Regions from separate parts of the Homo sapiens genome. Here all the other regions are linked to region 1. Evidence: promoter capture Hi-C in 16 types of primary human blood cells and fetal thymus (Javierre and others, 2016). All regions are on one chromosome and are shown on one strand. The core of a region is centred on a gene start or on the middle of the fragment in contact, and the rest is flanking DNA. Distances in the headings are between cores, read along the strand shown.

Evidence for each region. The method cuts DNA at HindIII sites, captures the fragments that hold promoters and counts their contacts. A CHiCAGO score of 5 or more calls a contact.
Region 2: a contact is called between a fragment that was not itself captured here and the fragment with the promoter of DORIP1 in region 1, in 17 of 17 cell types (activated CD4 T cells, total B cells, total CD8 T cells and 14 more). The highest score is 17.4, in activated CD4 T cells.
Region 3: a contact is called between a fragment that was not itself captured here and the fragment with the promoter of DORIP1 in region 1, in 12 of 17 cell types (non-activated CD4 T cells, activated CD4 T cells, total CD4 T cells and 9 more). The highest score is 14.1, in non-activated CD4 T cells.
Region 4: a contact is called between a fragment that was not itself captured here and the fragment with the promoter of DORIP1 in region 1, in 1 of 17 cell types (neutrophils). The highest score is 8.6, in neutrophils.
Region 5: a fragment that was not itself captured here is called in contact with the fragment with the promoter of DORIP1 in region 1 in 16 of 17 cell types (non-activated CD4 T cells, naive CD8 T cells, total CD4 T cells and 13 more); the score reaches 12.6 in non-activated CD4 T cells.
Region 6: a fragment that was not itself captured here is called in contact with the fragment with the promoter of DORIP1 in region 1 in 13 of 17 cell types (fetal thymus, total CD8 T cells, activated CD4 T cells and 10 more); the score reaches 11.9 in fetal thymus.
Region 7: a fragment that was not itself captured here is called in contact with the fragment with the promoter of DORIP1 in region 1 in 17 of 17 cell types (activated CD4 T cells, non-activated CD4 T cells, total CD8 T cells and 14 more); the score reaches 36.4 in activated CD4 T cells.

The regions. Positions count from the first base shown.
Region 1 is chr14:44,895,854-44,898,883 of GRCh38, reverse strand. DORIP1 (dopamine receptor interacting protein 1) reads right to left here and starts at 1,609. Exons shown (of 5, transcript NM_001017923.2): 1 at 1,316-1,609. RefSeq lists silencers at 955-1,274, 1,295-1,424 and enhancers at 791-1,290, 1,915-1,964. The HindIII fragment of the contact is 3,873 bases long and covers 1-1,950 here.
Region 2 is chr14:45,219,468-45,222,416 of GRCh38, reverse strand. All of the region lies in intron 11 of MIS18BP1 (MIS18 binding protein 1), which reads left to right. Among named protein-coding and RNA genes, the nearest start is that of MIS18BP1, 32 kb to the left of the region's middle. The HindIII fragment of the contact is 2,277 bases long and covers 353-2,629 here.
Region 3 is chr14:45,237,373-45,240,305 of GRCh38, reverse strand. MIS18BP1 (MIS18 binding protein 1) reads left to right here. Exons shown (of 17, transcript NM_018353.5): 5 at 2,585-2,658. Among named protein-coding and RNA genes, the nearest start is that of MIS18BP1, 14 kb to the left of the region's middle. The HindIII fragment of the contact is 5,284 bases long and covers 1-2,933 here.
Region 4 is chr14:45,297,038-45,299,760 of GRCh38, reverse strand. No RefSeq gene overlaps it. Among named protein-coding and RNA genes, the nearest start is that of MIS18BP1, 45 kb to the right of the region's middle. The HindIII fragment of the contact is 2,384 bases long and covers 241-2,624 here.
Region 5 is chr14:45,280,773-45,283,791 of GRCh38, reverse strand. No RefSeq gene overlaps it. Among named protein-coding and RNA genes, the nearest start is that of MIS18BP1, 29 kb to the right of the region's middle. RefSeq lists a silencer at 1,699-1,899. The HindIII fragment of the contact is 7,998 bases long and covers 1-3,019 here.
Region 6 is chr14:45,198,666-45,201,365 of GRCh38, reverse strand. It overlaps FANCM (FA complementation group M), which reads right to left. Exons shown (of 23, transcript NM_020937.4): 22 at 2,431-2,700; 23 at 476-1,496. The coding sequence ends at 1,358. Among named protein-coding and RNA genes, the nearest start is that of MIS18BP1, 53 kb to the left of the region's middle. RefSeq lists an enhancer at 2,440-2,700. The HindIII fragment of the contact is 1,579 bases long and covers 627-2,205 here.
Region 7 is chr14:45,257,235-45,260,146 of GRCh38, reverse strand. The region is part of intron 1 of LOC107984674 (a long non-coding RNA gene); the gene reads right to left. Among named protein-coding and RNA genes, the nearest start is that of MIS18BP1, 5.5 kb to the right of the region's middle. The HindIII fragment of the contact is 2,604 bases long and covers 361-2,912 here.

The sequences.
Region 1 (3,030 bases), core at 360-2,859:
CCAAAACATTCTGCAACGCGAGTAAAAATTCACTTCTGCAATATATTAAACACACATGAACACAGTGTTTTCAGTTTGAAGCAAGATACTGTGGACTCTAAAATATCCAGTAACTATATTTAGTATGAAGAGTGGATGTTTATATCTAGTTGGCCAACACATTGATTCTAGTCATCCACTTAGGAAGAAGAGGGTGTGGCAAATCTGCAGCCTAGGAAAACACAAACTCAGTTTCTTCGTAATAGATACTGATTCGTTTTGTTTACAAAGATTTTAAAAAACAGTTATGCATTCAAATACTTTAAAAACGAAAATAACTTTATGGTTTGATTTATTTCCGTTGAATTTTAAAGAACTTTGTAGCAAGGTTTAAGATTGCTTAAAGAGCCTGAGTTCGGATTCCTAAAATAGTGCATTGGGAAGGAAGCATAAATCTCTAGGATATTTTCTTCACATTATCTTCAGACATGACCAAATGAAGTGTAACTACCCTTACACTCTAAGAGAATTAAACTATAATGACATATGTGGCATGAAACTTTAGTCTTTCTCTGGAAAAAACGGGAGGAGGGAAGGTTTGGAAGAACTAGAGGATACTAGTTTCATCATGAATTTGGTGATTTGTTCCAAAGTAAATTGCAATAAAAATGAGGGGTGGGGAAAAATGATGGAAAGATAGCTGTGAAGAGCTTTACTTAAAATTGTCTTAGCTGTTTAGCTAGGAACTGTAATTAGAAGGACTGGAGGATGTATTCCGCTGGCTTTATTCTCCAGGCTCTACGGGCCCTCCAATTTGAATAAACCTGGAAAACTCTCCTGACCTCTATTTCTTTGACAAAACATCTTTCTTTCGTGGTGACTTCCAAGGGAGGAAATTGGTACCCCAAGCTAGCCGTGAGGACCCCACCACATGCCCAAGGCATTGAACGCCAGACTCCCTAAGGACTCAGGGATTCTAAAAGTCCCCTCTCAAATCAGCGCCTAAAATACGCCTGTACAGCCACGCGCTACCGCTCCCAGCAGCGCGGGACTTCGGGACAGGGACAAGGCGGACGCTAGGCGTGCGCCCCCGGGGAGCCCCCACGTTCCGGCCACGCCCACCCTGGCCCTGGGCAGCCGCGCCCGGGAGGCCTGGCACCGAGGCGGGCGGGTCCCCGAGTTAGGGGCCCGCGAGTCGGCTGGGCGCCCCCGCCTCTGCCCGGGCAGTGCCCCGCCGAGTGCTCAGAACTGCGGACAAATAGGCTGGAGGGCCGGGCCGCGGAAGGCGTTCCCACACCGGCCAGTCTCCGTCCACCAGGAAGCAAACTCCTCGTACCTCCCTGGGGACCGAAAACTGCCGGTGCCGCCGCACCCGTCGCCGCCGCCGCCTGCTCATGGAGAGCCCGGGCTGCCGCCGCCGCCGCCGCCGCCGCTGCCTCATCTATGAGTACCGCCGGCTGTCTCGGCCTCCCCCGGCGTGAGTTCTGGGCTCTGGCATGGCCTCCATGGCAGCCGCCGCGGCGGGAGCCACAGCAGCTCCAGCGCCCAGGCCCAATCTCACTGGACCCACGGAGCCAGGACAGTGGGACACGTCGCTTCTTATTACGGAGGAAGATTCGGCACGACCTCCGCCCCCCTCCCCCCAACCCCCCCGTTTTCAGCCGCCTGACAGCGCAGCTGCGCAGGCGCGAAGACGCCCCAGCCTAATGTGCGTGTGTCGGCTGTGTATACAGCATCCAGATTCGCCCAATGGGAACCAGGATCAGGTGTGGGGGGCGGGACCTCGCAGAGAGGGGCGGGGTTCCACTGGTAGAAGGTGGGTGGGGAAGCCGGAAGTGGGCAGAGTTTGCACGGAGGCGGAGCTTTATTGGCAAACCTGATTGGCTTTTTGAGGTTTGTACCATTTTAGGACTTGATTTTAGTTTGCTTCTGGGTCTTGTTTTCTCAAATTCTTAACCTAGAAAGAAAGCTTTGTTTTCTCAGTAAATTACGGTTTTTTAAGCGTTTAAGTATTTACTTAGAAAACAGTTGAATTGATCTGTTAAATGCCAGCTTTAGTGTTCAAGTTAATTATTGGCCAATATACTGTAACTTACAGTGGAAGTTAACCCCATTTTGAAAAATTAGATTGTTTTAATTCCATTGTGAAGTTGAAAAAATTGGGTTTTGGAGATAATAAGGTCCCACACAGCAAGTGACGGAGCTGGAAATTACAGTTAGGACAACTTAATGCTAGTTTGTGGGCTCAACCACTATTTCTGTTTATTAGGGCCGAGTTTTTGTATCTCCCGTAAAGAAGCAAGGCCCTGTATGGCTCTGCATCTGGAGAACACAGGCCACCCTGCAAAAACTACCTCTCCTTGCAAGTAGGCATGGAGATCTGGTTGAGATTTTCCCCATCCAGCCTTTCAACAAATAATGAGGGTCTGGAAAGTTAGCTCTAACGTTCAGAACACGTGAGGGCTAATGAGAGAGCTCAAGGCTATCCTAGTAAATCAGTGTGGTTTTCCGTCACAGGCTGAGCCTGGGAGAGGCTGGATGCCTTCTTGACCGGTGTGATGGTCGGCCAAAGCTATGGAGGGGAACTTCCTCATGGATCTCTCTAAAAAAGTCTAGAAATGGAAGAGAGACTTCCATTTCTTGAGTTTTGGCTCTGCCCAAAAAAGAATAATTAATAGCTCTGGCAAAGCCTGCTCTTTTTAGTTTCCTGTTTTTTCTTATTTCTTATGGTATTTTATAGATGAGGAAACTGAGGCTCTTAGAGATAAACTAGTGTGTTGGAAAACTTGCAAAAAGTTCACTCTCAATATTAATCCTCTCCTACAGGTAGAAAAGCCCTTTAAAAATGTTTGTAAATGTGGATTATGTGTTTAATTATAAATCTCTCACAAGACATGGAGTTCATTTTATACTGATTAGGTCATTCTCTTCCTGAAAACAGCCATAGTATGGTGGATGACACCATTTCTGGAGAATAGTATTGAGATTGCTCATTAAACTCTGCCGAGTCTCAGCTAGATGGAGGAAGCATGGATTCCTTGAATACTTGGA
Region 2 (2,949 bases), core at 242-2,741, 320 kb before region 1:
TATTTAATGTCATCCCTAGAGCAACTTCTAAAAAAACTATACAAAGAAATAATTTCAAACATAAATTAAAATACTGGAAAATCAAATAGCCCAAAAGAAGGCAAAGAAGAAGAGAAGTGGAGGATTTTTTTACATGGAACAAGCAGAAAACAAATAATAAAATTATTGACCTAAATCCAACATAATTAAATTAAATGGTCTAAACATACCAATTAAAAGACATATTGTCAGAATGAATTTAAAAACATGATCTAACTATATGCTGTATACAACAAACTCACTTTAAATATAATGATATAGGTAGGTTAAAAGGATAGAAAAATACCGTCTAAACACAAATCAAAAGAAAGCTTGAGTGGCTATATTAATATCTGTCAAAATAGACTTTAGTAGGAAGAAAATAACCAGGAATAAAGAAAGACATTACAAATGATAGAAGGGTCAGTCACCAGGAAGGCATGAAATTCCTAAGTGTGTATGCACCTGACAATAAAACCTCAAAATACATGAGTTAAAAACTGACAAGTGAAAGCAGCGGACTAAACTACAAGGATAGTCAAATCCACAGTTATAGGAAACCACACTGCTCCTCTCTTGGTATTTGATAGAACTGACTGAAAATTAGCAGGGATATAGAACTGAACAACACCATCAGTCATTCGTATGATTCACATTTACAGAACATTCCACCCAATAATAAGAAAAAGAATAGGTTATTTCCAAGGATAGGTTGATCATTCATCAAGATAGATCATAAAACCTCTTAACAGATTTAAAATAGCTGAAATCATACAAAGCATATTCTCTGATGATAATTGAATTAAACTACAAATCAATAAAATAAAGATAGGAAAATTTCCAAGTGGTTGAAAATTAAATAACTTATTAATACGTATAACTAATCTGTGGGTCAAAGAAGAAGACTTAAAGGAAAGTAGAAAATATTCTTTTATTTTATTTTATTTTATTTATTTATTTTTGAGACGGAGTCTTGCTCTGTCGCCCAGGCTGGAGTGAAGTGGCGCGATCTCTGCTCACTGCAAGCTCCACCTCCCAGGTTCACACCATTCTCCTGCCTCAGCCTCCCGAGTAGCTGGGACTACAGGCGCCCGCGACCACGCCGGCTAATTTTTTGTATTTTCAGTAGAGACGGGGTTTCACCGTGTTAGCCAGGATGGTCTCGATCTCCTGACCTCGTGATCCTCCCGCCTTGGCCTCCCAAAGTGCTGGGATTACAGGCTTGAGCCACCGCGCCCGGCTTCTTTTATTTTTTTTCTTTTTGGAGACAGAGTCTCACTCTGTCACCCAGGCTAGAGTGCAGTGGTACGATCTCAGCTCACTGCAACCTCCGCCTCCTGGGTTTAAGCAATTCTCCTGCCTCAGCCTCCCAAGTAGCTGGGATTACAGGTGTGTGCCACCATATCCAGCTAGTTTTTGTATTTTTAGTGGAGTTAAGGTTTCACCATGTTGGCCAGGCTGGTCTCGAACTCCTGACCTCAAGTGATTCACCTGCCTTGGCCTCCCAAAATGCTAGGATTACAGGTGTGAGCCACCAGCCCGGCCAGATATTCTTAACTGAACAAAAATGAAAATATATCAAAATTTGCAGCATGGGCCTAGGAGTTCATAAACAACTTTAAAGGGTTGCTATGCCAAGCTCCTCCCTCTCCCTGATTTCTGTCGTACTTTCTACATAAACAAATTAGGGTGCATTCTTTCAGTGGATTACTAAGCAGTAAAAAGGAAGAACTATTGATACATACAACAACCTGGTTGAATTTCAAAGGCATATTGAGTGAAAAAAGCCAACTCAAAGGGTTATACACTATATGATTCCATTTATATGACATTCTGGAAAAGTGTGCTACACACTTTTAAATGACCAGATTTCATGAGAACTCCATCAGAAGGATGGTACCAAGAGGGATGTTGCTAAATCATTCATGAGGAATCTACCTCCGTTAACCAATCACCTCCCCCTAGGCCCCACTTCCAATACTGGGAATTACATTTTGATATGAGTCTTGGGTAGGGACACATATTTAAACTATATCAATAAATAAGAATTATTTAAGCCAAGGATTCAAGACAAATGGACCTTAGAATAGCATACACAAAAGTATAAAGAAAGAGGGCATATTTGGAAATACTGAAAGAATGGGTGTGGGGTATGTGCCTGTAGTGCCAACCACTAAGGAGGCGGAGTCAGGGGGATCGCCTGAGCCCAGAAGTTGGAGGCCACATTGAGCTATGATAATGCCCGGCACTCCTGCATGGGTGACAGATTGAGACCCTGTCTCTTTAAAAAAAAAAGAAAGGTAAATAAAGAAAGCTAGAATGAATGGAATACTGAAAGTTGACCAAAGAGCAGTACAAGATGAGACTAGAGAGTTGGGCAAGGAACAATACAGCGTTACACTAAGGATTTGGGGTTTTATGCTAATAATGAAACAAGTTTTAAACATGGTGTGATATGTTTAAGTTTGTCTTTTTAAATTATCTGGAATAACCTAGAGGAGATGTGTTAAGTACTAATTTCTTATTAAATACATTATTATTTGTGTTATGTAATAGTTATTTTAGACAGTCGTAGATTTAGAAATTAGCCACACACACAAATAGAGAAGCTTGAGTTCCCAAGTCCTTCTAGTTGTTCACTTTAGAACACTGTGGAATGATTAATTATGTAAAAGAATTCATTAACAAGTATTTAATGCTCATAAGTATTATGCTTTTCTGCATGGAATAATATGCTGTGGTCAGCTGGTAGCTGTTCACAAGAGCTGATTGTTAAATTTTGGAGAATTTTACAAATTGAGTGTTAAAGTCATTAAAAAATTATATAAACTTAAATTATTTAAAACAAAGATAATGCTTAAAACTCATTACTTCCTAATTATTTTCCATTTTATTATATATATATGCTCTTGAGACTCTTCACCTCTGTGG
Region 3 (2,933 bases), core at 160-2,659, 340 kb before region 1:
TTTTCTGCTACATTGCTGCCCATCCCTTCTCAGTCCTCTTTGCTATTTCCTCTTTCTTTCCCCAGAATCAGTCCTAAAAATGTTGGAATTACTGCAGATCAGCCCTAGAAATTGTTTTTCTACCTACACGCACTCTCTAGGCTGTATTTCCAGTGTCATAGTTTTAAATTCCATCTCTATGCTGATAGCTCTCCAATATGTTTCCAGCACAGAAAATTCTTCTCAACTCCACACTCATGTGCAGTTGTCTATATGACTTTTCTATTGATATCAGATAGGCATCTCAAATTGAAAATGTGAGAAAATGTGAGATTCTTATTCTTGATTTCTTTACCATACCTTCTCCATTGTCCTGTATTAGTACATTGTAATACCATTGGCCCCAGTATTTAGGCAAAATTTTAGATTCATCTTGGACTCTTGTTTCTCTCTCATGCTCCACATCCAAACCATGAAGAAATCCCATTGGCTCTACTCTCCTGAATGCGGCCTCTTCTCACTGTTCAACCACTACCTCCTAGTCCAGGGATGACTGTCATAGCCTAGTGGTCTCCCTGCTTCCAGTATTGCTTTTCTCCTTTTTCAGTCTGTTTTCCAGACAAGCTAAAATCTTCATATAGTCTCATCTCTACCCAACAGTCCCTTAAAATATCAAATTTTGTCGTTCTGTTCAGAATCCCCAGTAACTTGTCATCTCAATAGAAAACACTAAGCCTTTACCATGGTTTACCGAGCTGTACTTAGTTAATCCTGGAGATCTCCAACCTCACCACTTATTCCCTCTCACTTACTCCTTTCAAATTATGCCTTCCATGCTGCCTACCTGGATCTCTGCGCTGACTCTCTGTGCTTAGAAGAATCTTTTTGCTGATATCCATGTGACTCATTGCTCACTTTATTCAGTTCTCTCTTCCAAGACGTTCCCTGACTGTTTTGTCTTAAAAAGCACCTCATTTATCTAATGCCTTTTATTTATTTTTCATAGTAATTACCACCACCTGACATTTTCATATTGGTTTAGATGCCATTATCCTGCTTGCCTCCACCCCCAACCCTAACACACACACAAGAATGTTGGCCCTAAGAGGGGCAGCTGTTTACTTTCTCACTCAATCTCCACTATCTAAAACAGTGTGTAGAACTCAACAAATATTTGTTGAATGAATAATGAATGAACATTTTGATATCTTATATAAGCAGTATAATAGTATGGTACAGGATTATTATCTCCATCTGACTGGTGCGTTGATATATCTCAGGTAGTTCCAAATGTGGGAGAAGGCAAAAAGAGAGTATTATTTACTGTTACTTCCCCAAGTCCTACCTATAATTTTTTACTTTTTTCAGAAAGAAACATTTAAAAGGGGCTTAAAAACAGAAGCCATATTTGTGTCTTGGGTGAGGGTAAGACAAGATGGTGGATCCCCTCGCCATTACTACTGAGACCCATGGCTTATAAACTATCCTACTTATAATTTTTTATTTTTATGTATTTACTTTTTGAGACAGAGTCTTGTTCCATCACCTGTTGAGGCTCACTGAAGCCTCGACCTCCCAAGCTCAAGTGATCCTCCCACCTCTGCCTCTCCAGTAGCTGGGACTACAGGTGTGTACCACCACACCCAGCTAATTTTTAAACTTTTTTTTGGAATCTTACTATGTTGCCCAGGCTGGTCTTGAACTCCTAGGCTCAAACAGTTCTCCCGACTTGGCCTCCCAAAGTTCTGGGATTACAGGTTTAAGCAACTGTCCTCAGCCATCACCTATAATTTTTTAAATGAACATAATCAACATGTGCCATAACAAAGACTGTCCCATTTTAATGTCTTTTCCTGACTCAGTATAAAACTACCACTGGAGAATTTGTTTTTATTTGTAAATGTGTAACTTTACATATAAAGTAAATTGCCACTCAAATTATTCCATAAATTTTGACTTTTTTTCTCATCAGAAGTAGTTCAATCTTAAATTTTATGAAATTTATATTCAAGAATTTCTTTGCATAGATTGTCATAAAATGTTTTCCATTAGAATGATATTTTACTTGTAGTAAGATAATAAAGAGTTCTCTGAGCTATTCAGATGTTTACTTTGGAATAAAATACTGTTAAATCTAGATTACCAGCAGTTACCTTTTTAGTTTGTAGAAAATTGGAATACAGGTCTAAACTTTACAAAAAAAAAAAAAAACTCTTAATTTTTTAAGGACAAAACATAGCTAACTCCTTTTCACTCCAAGTTACTGGGCTTTTTGCAGGACTTGGTGTTTTAATCTGTACCTTGGGATTTTACATGATTTTTGTCCCCACCAGTTGAGATTTGGTGATAGAGTATTTGAAGTATAATTGCTTCTTGATTGTAGAACAAATGCAATACAACCTGAATTCAGTCTTTTCTTTTCTGTTTCATTGTATACAAGAATTTTACCTATTGCTATTTAGAATAGAATGTGAATCTTACATCGATGACACTAAGGAATATTTGGATTACTTAGACAAGTTTTTTCTTTTAATGTAAGTTAATTTTGTAATGCTTGTGCTGCAAGTAATACAGGAAATATGTTCTTTGTTTTATACTTGATTAGGTAGTTCAGCTACAGGAATGGATGATTAAAAGCATCAATAATAATACTGCTATATGTGTAGAAGGAAAATTGATGTAAGTATACTATTTCATTATTCTTTTAATAAAACTTTAGTTATGTGTAAGCACTTAAGAGTTAATGCATGAGAAATAGCATCCTCCACAAAGCAAAGACCTAACAAGGTTATGAACTGAAGGCAAAAAAGTAAAATTACTGTGCAGGTCCTAGCCATGTTGATTGCTACCAGCTTTCTTGTTTTTGCATGTTTACTCAAGTTTTTCTTAAAATAATGACAGTTCAAATTTGTATAGTGGTTTATTTTTTTCTGAGGTGCTAATAAGTGGACTGG
Region 4 (2,723 bases), core at 183-2,682, 400 kb before region 1:
TTTAATGCTATCATCTGACATATTAGCTATGTCTCCCAGCTTCATCATTTGCCAATTTAATGAGTATGTCATTTTAACAAAATAATTTTAAAATGTTGAACCCAACTTTTCAAAGACACATTACTAGAGATATACCTTAGGCACTATTTGAACACTGCCTTCAAACTAGGTACAAATCCAGTTCCTGCATTTTTAATGTACTATGCCTTGAAAGCATGTTTATATTTTAGTGTGAAAGCTTTAAAAGATCAAAAGCCTGCAAGGCCAATAGAAATTAATTTCTAAAGATGAAATTTTTGAGTTGTGAGAGAAAGTGTTCTGCCAGGAGAGTTCTTCTATTGTAGGTGTCTGTCTGTTCTGTCTATATAGCCAGTATAAGCCTATACTGGCTAATCACATCCTTACCTAGGTTTTTAATTCCTTCTTTCCACAATGGTGATTGAATTGTGCTGAAAATTTATTAAAAGTATTGCCTTGAGTGAAATTGATTTGGAGAGATATGACCTGCTGATTTCTTTTAAAAATAAATTCTAATATATATCATTTCTCATGCAAATATCCGTGGTGAACAGCTCCATGTAAACAGTCCCAAAGGGTTCCAGGTAATCATGAGCACTGTAACAATACAATATTAAAATGATTTCCTCATGTAAAATCTAGAAGAAGTCAGAGCTTCCAGATATTAGGCTTGATTTTTAGCATGCACAAGTTACTATGATCATCTTCATTTCAGATTCAGCAATTTTATTTCCATTTTTACAACTCTCCTATGTCATTGAATCTTTCCTGGAATCTACAGCCCTGACTCAGTGAAAACAAAGTGAATCACAAGCTATAGTTGTTTTATTTTTAGTACACAGCACAATCCTGAGAGAGTTGAAGATGTTCAGAGACAAAAACAACCACCACCACCTCATGTAAAGCCAAAATAACACTCCCTTGTACCTTAAAGTGAGGATCTCCTGTTGCCTGAATCTTAATAGATGTCAACAGAGACGGGGCAGCCATAACACTTTCAGGAGAAACTGTGCACTCTCTCTGTACTTTTCTGGCGCCTTTTTCAGTTTCAGAGAAAAAGCACAAATGGCAAAGGAGGAATACCACATTCACGAGCCAGGTTAAGCGTCTACCACACAACTTTATTACTATTACACACAGGCTGTGTATGGAATGCATGAGTAAAATGGAAAACAGGGGTGGTACCTTTCCAGCCAAAAGAAGCCCTTTTTTATCAGAGATGAAAAAGTCTGCTAAAATTATGCTGAATTACAAGCATGTGAAAAAATGGGTTCCAAACACCACTCTAAAGCTATTTTTAAGCAAAGTGGTAACTACTCATTTGAATAATAAAATGTTTGCCAATATAATTAATTCTACTTTTCCTGCTATTTTCTTTTAAAAGTTTTATATTTAACCCAGAATGCTATAAGAATTCAATATAAACTAAATCTGAACTTAGAATATTATACCATTCAAGTGTTTCTTTTCCTCCACATGAATTTTAATTTAATGAAATCACATAACACCAGGCCTTATTATTTATTTATTTATTTATTTAAGAGACAGGGTCTCACTCTGTCATCCAGGCTGGAGTACGTTGGCATGATCATAGCTCACTGCAACTTTGAGCTCCTGGGTTCAAACACTCCTCCCATCTCAGCCTTCAGAGTAGATAGTCCTGTAGTAGGACAACAGGCACATGCTATGCCCAACTAATTTTTTTTTTTTAATTTTTGTAGAGACAGGGCCTCACTCTGTTGTCCAAGCTGATCTTGAACTCTTGACCTCAAGTGATCCTCCTGCCTTAGCCTCCCAAAGTGCTGGGATTACAGGTATGAGCCACTGCACCTGGCCAGGCCTTATTTTTATAATACACTGAGTGTTTTTGTGTAAGTATGCCAAGGTAACTATAGTTCAGTAAAAAAACACTGTTTTTTTCTTTACCTTTGGAAAGTAAGTGACTACATAGCCTAATCTGTGATGGGGATTGACCACAGCAAGGGCAACTGCCACCAGAGAGTGATACCACCTCAGGACATCATGGGATAAAAAATATCACTCCGTAGAAGTAACTTCAGCATAACTCATATAAAACAAACAGAGACAGAGTTTAGGTGTCACCCAGGCTGGGATGCAGTGGCACAATCATAGCTCACAGCAACCTCAAACTCCCGGGCTCAAGGGATCCTCCCGCCTCAGTCTCCCAAGTAGCTAGGATTATAGGTGTGTGCCACTATGTTCAGCTAATTTTTTTGTTTGTTTGTTTGTTTTTTGTAGAAACAGGGTCTTGTTATATGGCCCAGGCTGGTTTCAAACTCCTGGCCTCAAGCCGTCCTTCAGTCTCAACCTCCCAAAATGTTGGGATTACAGGCATGAGCCTCCATGCACAGCCCACTGAATGATCTATTTTTAATTTAAATGTCACACTATAGCAGTGGCATTTGCTGAGCTTCCTGATGGATTCATGGCCCAAGTGTAAGATACAGTCAAACAGAGAATTTTTAAGTTGTATTTATTATATAATTGTAGAAATACGATATTTTGGGGTATTTTTACTTGTGTCATTGTACCTTGCTATCAAAGTGTGGTTTGTAGATCAGTCTCATTGACCTCACTTAGAAGCTTGTTGAAAATGCAGAACCCAGGCCCCATGCCAACTCTGCATTTTAAATACAACCCTGGTTGATTCATATGCATATTAAAGTTTGAAAAACATTATTATA
Region 5 (3,019 bases), core at 241-2,740, 390 kb before region 1:
TTAATAATAATTATTTTTTTTTTTTTGAGACAGAGTCTCGCTCTGTCACCCAGGCTGGAGTACAGTGGCACAATCTCAGCTCACTACAAGCTCCGCCTCCTGGGTTCACGCCATTCTCCTGCCTCAGCCTCCTGAGTAGCTGGGACTACACGTGCCTGCCACCATGCCCGGCTAATTTTTTGTATTTTTAGCAGAGACAGGGTTTCACCACGTTAGCCAGGATGGTCTCGATCTCCTGACCTCATGATCCGCCCTCCTCAGCCTCCCAAAGTGCTGGGATTACAGGCATGAGCCATCGTGCCCGGCCGAATATTTTTTATTTAAAAAAGAGATTTTTTTATTAAAAAAATAAACAGCAAAAGATACATTGTATTTAAATTTTAAAGAAAAACCTGCACAAAAGCACTGAAATGGCTGAGTAGAACTGTGCTCAACAACTGATTGGTCACACATAGATATGACTGTCATTAATATTCTAACCGTATCTATTAAACAGACAGAAACCATTCCCAAAAAAAAGACATTTCTCTTATTTTTAAAGACTTCCAAAGGAAAAAAAAATCTATATTTTTTTCCATCTGTTAAGAGCCCTCTTTTTTAATAAGAGTATCCACTTTTTATACCACTAGGAAAGAGTATACTAACCTGCCTTAGTTCATTCCCAGAGTATGGGTCTCAGCAGGAAACAGGAGACTGAGCTGAGGTTTGGAGATAACTTAATAAATAAACTATCTACAGATGTGTGAATACGGTTAAGAGATGCTACAGGGATGCTGAGCACTTTGGAACTGTTACCACCCCTCGGCCTGAAGTGATAAGCTGGAGCTGGAGTGCATTAGTCCATTCTCACACTCTACAAAGAAATGCCTGAGACTGGGTAATATATAAAGAAAGGAGGTTTAGGGCACAGCAGCTCACATTTGTAATCCCAGAACTTTAGGAGGCCAAGGCAGGTGGATCACTTGTGGCCAGGAGTTCGAGACCAGCCTAGCCAACATGGTGAAACACCATCTCTACTAAAAATACAAAAAAAAAAAAAAAATTAGTTGGGCGTGGTGGCACACGCCTGTAATCCAGCTACTTGGGAGGCTGAGGCAGGAGAACTATTTGAACCTAGGAAGCAGAGGTTGCTGTGAGCCAAGATCCTGCCACTGCACTCCAGCCTGGGTGACAGAGGGAGATTCTGTCTCAAAAAAAAAAAAAAAAAAAAAAAAAAAAAAGAAGGAGAGAAGGAAGGAAGGGAGGGAGGGAGGGAGGAAGGGGGGAGGGAAAGAGAGAGAAAGAAAGAGAGAAAGAAAGAAAGAAAGAAAGAAAGAAAGAAAGAAAGAAAGAGAGAGAAAGGAAGAAAGTATCGGAGGAACCAGCCCCCAATATTTCAACATAGGTTCTTTTCTATTTTCGCTAAGTGTCGGCCGGTCTGAGAAATAAAGAGAAAGAGTACAAGAGAGAAATTTTACAGCTGGGCCACCAGGAGAGACATAACATATTGGCAGCTTCCGTGATGCCCACCTGAGCTGCAAAACCAGCACGTTTTTATTAGCAATTTTCAAAGGGGAGGGAGTGTACGAATAGGGTGTGGGTCACAGAGATCACATGCTTCAAAGGCAATAAAATATCACAAGGGCAGAGTCAGAGTGAGATCACAAGGCCAGGGCAAAACTAGAATTACTGATGAAGGTCCATGTCCTGCTGGGCACACATTGTCACTGATAAACATCTTAACAGGAAACAGGGTTCAAGAGCAGACAACCGGTCTGACTAGAACTTCGCCAGGCTGGAATTTCCCAATCCTAGCAAGCCTGGGGGCGCCACAGGAGACCAGGGCATATTTCATCCCTTATGTACAACTGCATAAGACAGACACTCCCAGAGCGGCCTTTTAGAGACCTCCCCCTGGGAATGCATTCTTTTCCCAGGGCTGTTCCTTGCTGAGAAAAAGAATTCAGCAATATTTCTCCTATTCGCTTTTGCAAGAAGAGAAATATGACTCTGTTCTGCCCGGCCCTGCAGGCAGTCAGGCCTTATGGTTATCTCCTTGTTCCCTGAAAATCACTGTTATCCTCTTCTTTTAGGATGCCCAGATTTCATGTTGTTCAAACACACATATTTTACAAACAATTTGTACAGATAACACAATCATCACAGGATCCTGAGGCGACATACATCCTCAGCTTACGAAGATGACAGGATTAAGAGATTAAAGACAGGCATAGGAAATTATAAAAGTATCAATTTGGGGAACTAATAAATGTCCATGAAATCTTCACAATTTATGTTCTTCTGCCATAGCTTCAGCCTGTCCCTCCGTCCGGGGTCCCTGACTTCCCGCAACAAGGAAGGAAGGAAAGAAGGAAGGAAGGAAGGAAGGAACGGAGGGAGGGAGGGAGCGAGGGGTTTAATTGACTCAAAGTTCTGCATGGCTGAGGAGGCCTCAGGAAACTTATAATCATGGCAGAAGGGGAAGGGGGCACATCTTACAGGGCAGCAGGTGAGACAGAAGTGAGAGCACAGGAATAAACCACCATTTACAAAACCATCACATCTCGTGAGAATTCACTCACTATCACAAGAACAGCATGGGGGAAACCGCCCCCATAATCCAATCACTTCCTTCCCTCAACATATGGGGATTACAGGTCCCTCCCTCCACACATGGGGATTACAATTGGAGATGAGATTTCAGTGGGGACACAGAGCCAAACCATATCATGGAGTGATGGGGAAGTTAGGGGAGTGGAAGCCAGTAGTTGCACAGCTGCAGCCCCAGCCAGAACACAGCTCCAAGGCAGGGATGGAAAAAAGAAAGAAATGCCCTGATCTCTCCTCTCTACCTCCCCACTTCCTCCATCCCCTCGCTGGTGTTTCTTACTGCCTGAACCAACAGGAACTCGACTAGAAGAGTATAAGAAAGTACAATGCAGTACAAGAAAGTCTACATAACACAGTTTATTGGGGTCCATCACTAGGAGAAAAAGGAGAGCAGGGAATGGTGGGAAATAAATCTGGAGTAGAGGAGGTG
Region 6 (2,700 bases), core at 167-2,666, 300 kb before region 1:
CACGATCTCAGCTCACTGGAAGCTCCGCCTCCCGGGTTCACGCCATGCTCCTGCCTCAGCCTCCTGAGTAGCTGGGACTACAGGTGTCTGCCACCATGCCCGGCTAATTTTTTTATATTTTTAGTAGAGACGGGATGGGGTTTCACCGTGTTAGCCAGGATGTTCTTGATCTCCTGACTTCGTGATCCGCCCCCCTCGGCCTCCCCAAGTGCTGGGATTACAGGCGTGAGCCACCGCGCCCGGCCCCAAGCAGAGCCTTCTTAATGCCATCACAGACAACAGAATGGATCAAAACGGTAAATATAATAGGGTCAACATAATGGGCCTGCATTCAGTAATTTATATTAAAAAGAAACTTTCTAAGTCCAAACCAATATACCATTTTGAATATATTTCAGCAACAAAAAAGAGTAATGTAGCTGGGAGTTTGTATTAGTCCATTCTCACGCTGCTATGAAGAAATAACCCGACTGGGTAATTTATAAGGAAAAGATGTTTAATTGACTCACAGTCCTGCATGGCTGGGGAGGCCTCGGGAACTTACAATCATGGTGGAGGGGAAGCAAACGTTTCCTTTTCCACATGGCAGTAGGCAAGAGAACTGCAGAGTGAACAGAGGAAAAGCTTATAAAACCATCAGATCCTCTGAGAACTATCACTAGAACAGCATGGGGGAACCGCCCCCATGAGCTAATCACGTTCCAGGAGGTCCCTCCCCAATATATTGGGATTATAATTCAGATTACAAGTCAAGATGAGATTTTGGTTGGGGACACAGCCAAACCATATCAGAGTTCATATTAATAGATTTGACAGTACTTAACTGGGACACACCTTTGGTCAGATAAACATTCAGTTAAGTTTTCTACTTTCCTAGTTACTGGGTCATTTATCTCACAACCCACCCATCACCCACACCTTACCAAGTACATGTATTTAGAATCAGTACACTTAAAAGTATACTATCTACACATAGGGAAAATCGACAAGTTGGCTGTAGTCATAGACATGTCAACTTTACTATTTATCACAACAGTACAACTTTAATTTTGGGAAACATTCCAAAGTATATCTCTAGCTTAGCTTTTACTTTCTTAAACTATCCTTAGTAACACTTTTAATAAACCTTGTTTTATTTAATAAGAAAAATTAGTTTTATAATCTAGTCAAAATGATCACTGAACATCAGATTTTTCTTTTTTAATAATTTCTATAATCTATAAATAAAAATGTATACAATATAAAATATTTAAATAAAATATTCTCTTATTTACAAATAAACATAAAACAGCAATGATTATTGAAGTGCATTTAATATTGTGAGAGGTCTTTGAAAACCCCATCTTGAGCAGCTTGATTATATATCAGATTTCAGTCTATCTTGGTTAAGATCATTTGGTAACATTTGTATGTCAAATACATAGTGAATATATCTATAGATCTCCTCAGCCTTCTGATGAGTTACTTGTGCATACATGGAGATTTCTTGAAGTGAGCTGAAAAATAAATGAGACAAAATCATTACACTAGGACTTTTGGCTTTTATAAAATTTAATATTACCTAAAGAACACCAAACACAGTAGCCTTTAAGGAAATCATCTCAAGCATTATCCGCCCAGCTGATATGTCTTGAACATTAGTTTGGATAAAAGAGCTACTTGTTTCCTTTCCTTAAAATTATCTAGAATAACAATTTCAACATCTTCAATGAACTGAATGTTTTTGTGTTGCCCAAAATTCATATGTTGAAGCCGTAATCCCAATGTGATGGTATTTGGAAGTGGCAACTTTGAGAATTAGTTGATAAAGGTGGATATCCTTGTGCACTTTTAAGAAGAGGTCAAAGAGCTAGCTAGCTCTATTTCTGCCATGTGAGGATACAATGAGAAGGCAGTAGTCTGTGACTCAGTAGAAAGCTCTCTCCAGAACCCAGCCATGATCTCAGACTTCCAGTATCCAGAACTGGCAGAAATAAATTTGTGTTGTTTGTGTATTTTATCATTGCAGCATGAGCTAAGACAGTATCTGATGTAGGCCTTTAATTAAAATGAACTACATTCTAAAATCTCCCTCTTCAAGCAATATAATGATCACAACTAGTAAAATACTCATTTTTCTTGTTACAGAACTGAACAGCCCAGAAATGTTAGATTGCAAGGTCAAAGGAAACTGCTATTTATTGTCTCTCCACAGAGCTCTAAGCTTCTCAAAGGAAATCCCTACACCTATTTTTTCTTTTTTCTTTTTTTCGAATAATGTCCCTTAGCTTCATACAGTAACTAATATATGTTGGCAGGCAAAAAATGTTTACTGAATAAAATAATCTAACAGGCATGATGCCGCTTAAATTTTTTTAACATTAAACTTCTATGGAATGCTTTTACGAATCTTTTAAAAGTAATCATTTAAAAATATTACAACAGACATACCTGTTAGCCATCCTTTTCACAGATGAAAACTGGTGACACATATTTAATGCAGTTATATAACTTATATTGGGAATACTTAAATAAAACTGGAGTGCCTCACTTTTATTACTATTCACCACTGTTGGAACATGAATACCAACATTCTTTCTTTGTTCCACTAAAGACAGTTCCTTTAGCAAATCTGCGGTTTCTTCTTGGCAGGAACTGAAAAGAATTCGGATTCCAGCGCCAATTAAGGTAGTCAGCAGGCTGTCATAGCTCTTTGTTCTC
Region 7 (2,912 bases), core at 413-2,912, 360 kb before region 1:
ATGATGCAGTCAAATCGACACATAAAATTTACCATCAGAGAGTACTACTTGAAAGAATGACAGAAGGCACCTGACTTTGTTTTACATAACTTGAAACCTATTCAGCATGAAAAAAAAACAGCTACACAAAAGACATTCCTCAAAAACATTGTAAGACAAATGGACAACATGCTGCCACCTAGGACAAAGAATTACAATTGAGGCAAATAATAGATGCAGTGAAAGCCTGCAAGGAAAAGCTGGGTAGAGTTTCTCTGGGAAATTATTCAAAAGTGTCTCCATATACTGAGGAATTTAGAAGCTATGCACGTGCCTAGGACAGGATGCATGTTCAAAAACAATCTAAAAAGACCCTAAGCTTTTACTTCTGGCTTATCTTTGGGCTCAGCACAAGCAGGGAGTGAAGGCTTAGGCAGAGTTATAAATGGCCTCGCTAAGTACTGAAAGCATGCTCTAACACACAGCCAATCTTCAAAGGTTGGAAGAGGGTTTTTTGTTGTTGTTGTTGTTGTTGTTGTTTCTTTCTTTTCTTTTATTACTTTATTCTATTCTAGGATAGCTCCTGGTGATCAGGAAAATATCTATCAAAGCACCCCTGAACACAAGCTAAAGGAATAGAGACATCAGAGACCACACAGGACAAAGAATACAGACTTTACAAAGATCATATAGAAAAGTCACTAAACAAGCAAACAACTATATTTCACAGGAAGCAATAACAACAACAACAAATCCTAAGAAGAGAGAAGAATCTGATGTCCAGAGTTAGCATATTTTAATATTCAAATGTCCAGTCTCCAGCAAAAACATTATGAAGCATGCAAAGAAACTAGAAAGTATGGTTTATTTACAGAAGAAATTAATATAAGCTCTCCCTAAAGAAGCACAAACACTGAACATATTAGACAAAAATTTAAAATCAACTGTCTTAAATATGCTCAGAGAGGTAAAGGAAACCACAAAGAGTTAAAGGAAACCAGAAGAATGATGTGTTAACAATAGAAAATATCAACAAAGATAGAAATTATGAAAAGAAACCAAGTAGAAACTGTGAAGCTGAAAAATACAATAACTGAAATGAAAATTTACTAGAGGGTTGCAATAGCAGATTTGAGCAGGCAGAATAAAGAATGAGTGAACTTACAACTGTTGACTACAATCAAAATTATCCAGACTGAGGAGTATAAAGAAAAAAGAAAGACCAGGCGCGGTGGCTCACACGTGTAATCTCAGCATTGTGGGAGGCTGAGACAGTAGAATCACTTGAGCCCAGGAGTTCAAGACCAGCTGGGGCAACATAGTAAGACTCTGTCTTTACAAAAATTAAAAAAAAAAAAGTTAGCTGGGTATAGTGGTATGTGTCTGTAGTTTGAGCTACTCGGGAGGCTGAGGTGGAAAGGCCTCTTGAGCCCAGGAGTTCATAAGGCAGTGAGTCATAATTCTGCCTGTCAGCCTGGGTGACAGAACCAGACTCTGTCTCAAAAAACAAAAAAGAAAAAAGAAAAAAAATGAAGAATAATTATTGGAGTCTTTAAAAATCTATGGGAATAATCAAGAGTACCACCATACACATTACAGGAGTCCCAGAGGAGAAGAAAAATAAAACAGTGGAAAAAGATGTTGAAGAAATAACCAAAAGCTGCCCAGATTTGGTAAAAGACAGGAACCTATGCACCCAAGAATCTCAACAAACTCCAAGAAGGATAAATATAAACAGTTCCACACTGAGACACATTATAATCAAATTGTCAAAAGACAAAGACAAAAAAAAATCTTAAAAGTAGGGAGAGGAAAGATTTGTCACATACAAGTGATTCTCAATAATAAGAACATCTGATTTCTCATCAGAAACTATGTAGGCAAGAAGGCAGTGGGATAACATAGTCAAAGTGCTGAAAGAAAAAGACTATCTACCAAGAATTCTATATTCAGCAAAGTGTCCTTCAAAAACAATGGAGAAATTAAGACATTAGCACGTAAATAAAAGCTGAAGGAGTTTGTCACAAGTAGACCTATACTATAAGAAATACTAAAGGGAGTTCTTCAGGCTTAAATGAAAGAAAACTAGATGGTAACTAAAAGCTCTAAGAAGAAATCAGGAAGTTAGATAAATATAACTACATCAGTAAATACAAAAGCCAGGATCGCTATGTTTTTGGTGTGTAGTTCCCTTTTTTTATATGATTTAAAAGACAAATGCATAAAATAATTACAAATCTATGTTAATGAACACACAATGTATATAGATGCAATCGGTAATAATAGAAACATACAGGAGAGGACTCAGCTGTTTAGGGGCAGAGTTTTTGTATGCTGTTGAAACTAAGTTGGTATCAATCCAAACTAAGGTAGTATAGATTTAGGTGGAAACAACCCAAATGTCAATGGAGGAACAGATAAATAAAATGTGGTATACACACACACACACACACACACACACACACACACAAAATATGGAATACTGTTTAGCCACAAAAAGGAATATAGTACTAATCTACAACATACAATGTTTGATATATAAACCTCAGAAAAAAACTGTGAAGGAAGCTATACATAAAAGGTCCATATTGTAATATTGTATGATTCCATTTATATGAAATATCCAAATAGGTAAATTCATAGAGACAGGAAGAAGATTGGTGGTTGCCTAGGACTGTGGGGAGGGGAGAAGAGAGAGTGACTGCTTAAGGGGTATGAGATTTCCTTTTAGGATGATAAAAAATGTTTTACAGGTGGTGGTTGCAGAACATTGTGAATGCATTAAATGTCATTGAATTGTACACTTTAAAATGGTTATTTTAAGTGAATTTTACCTTAATTTTTTAATTAAAAGCCCTGACCATGCTGAAACATGAAAATGTTCATTTTGTATTACAATCATACACCATAGGAAGTTTTCTTAAAGAGGAAAC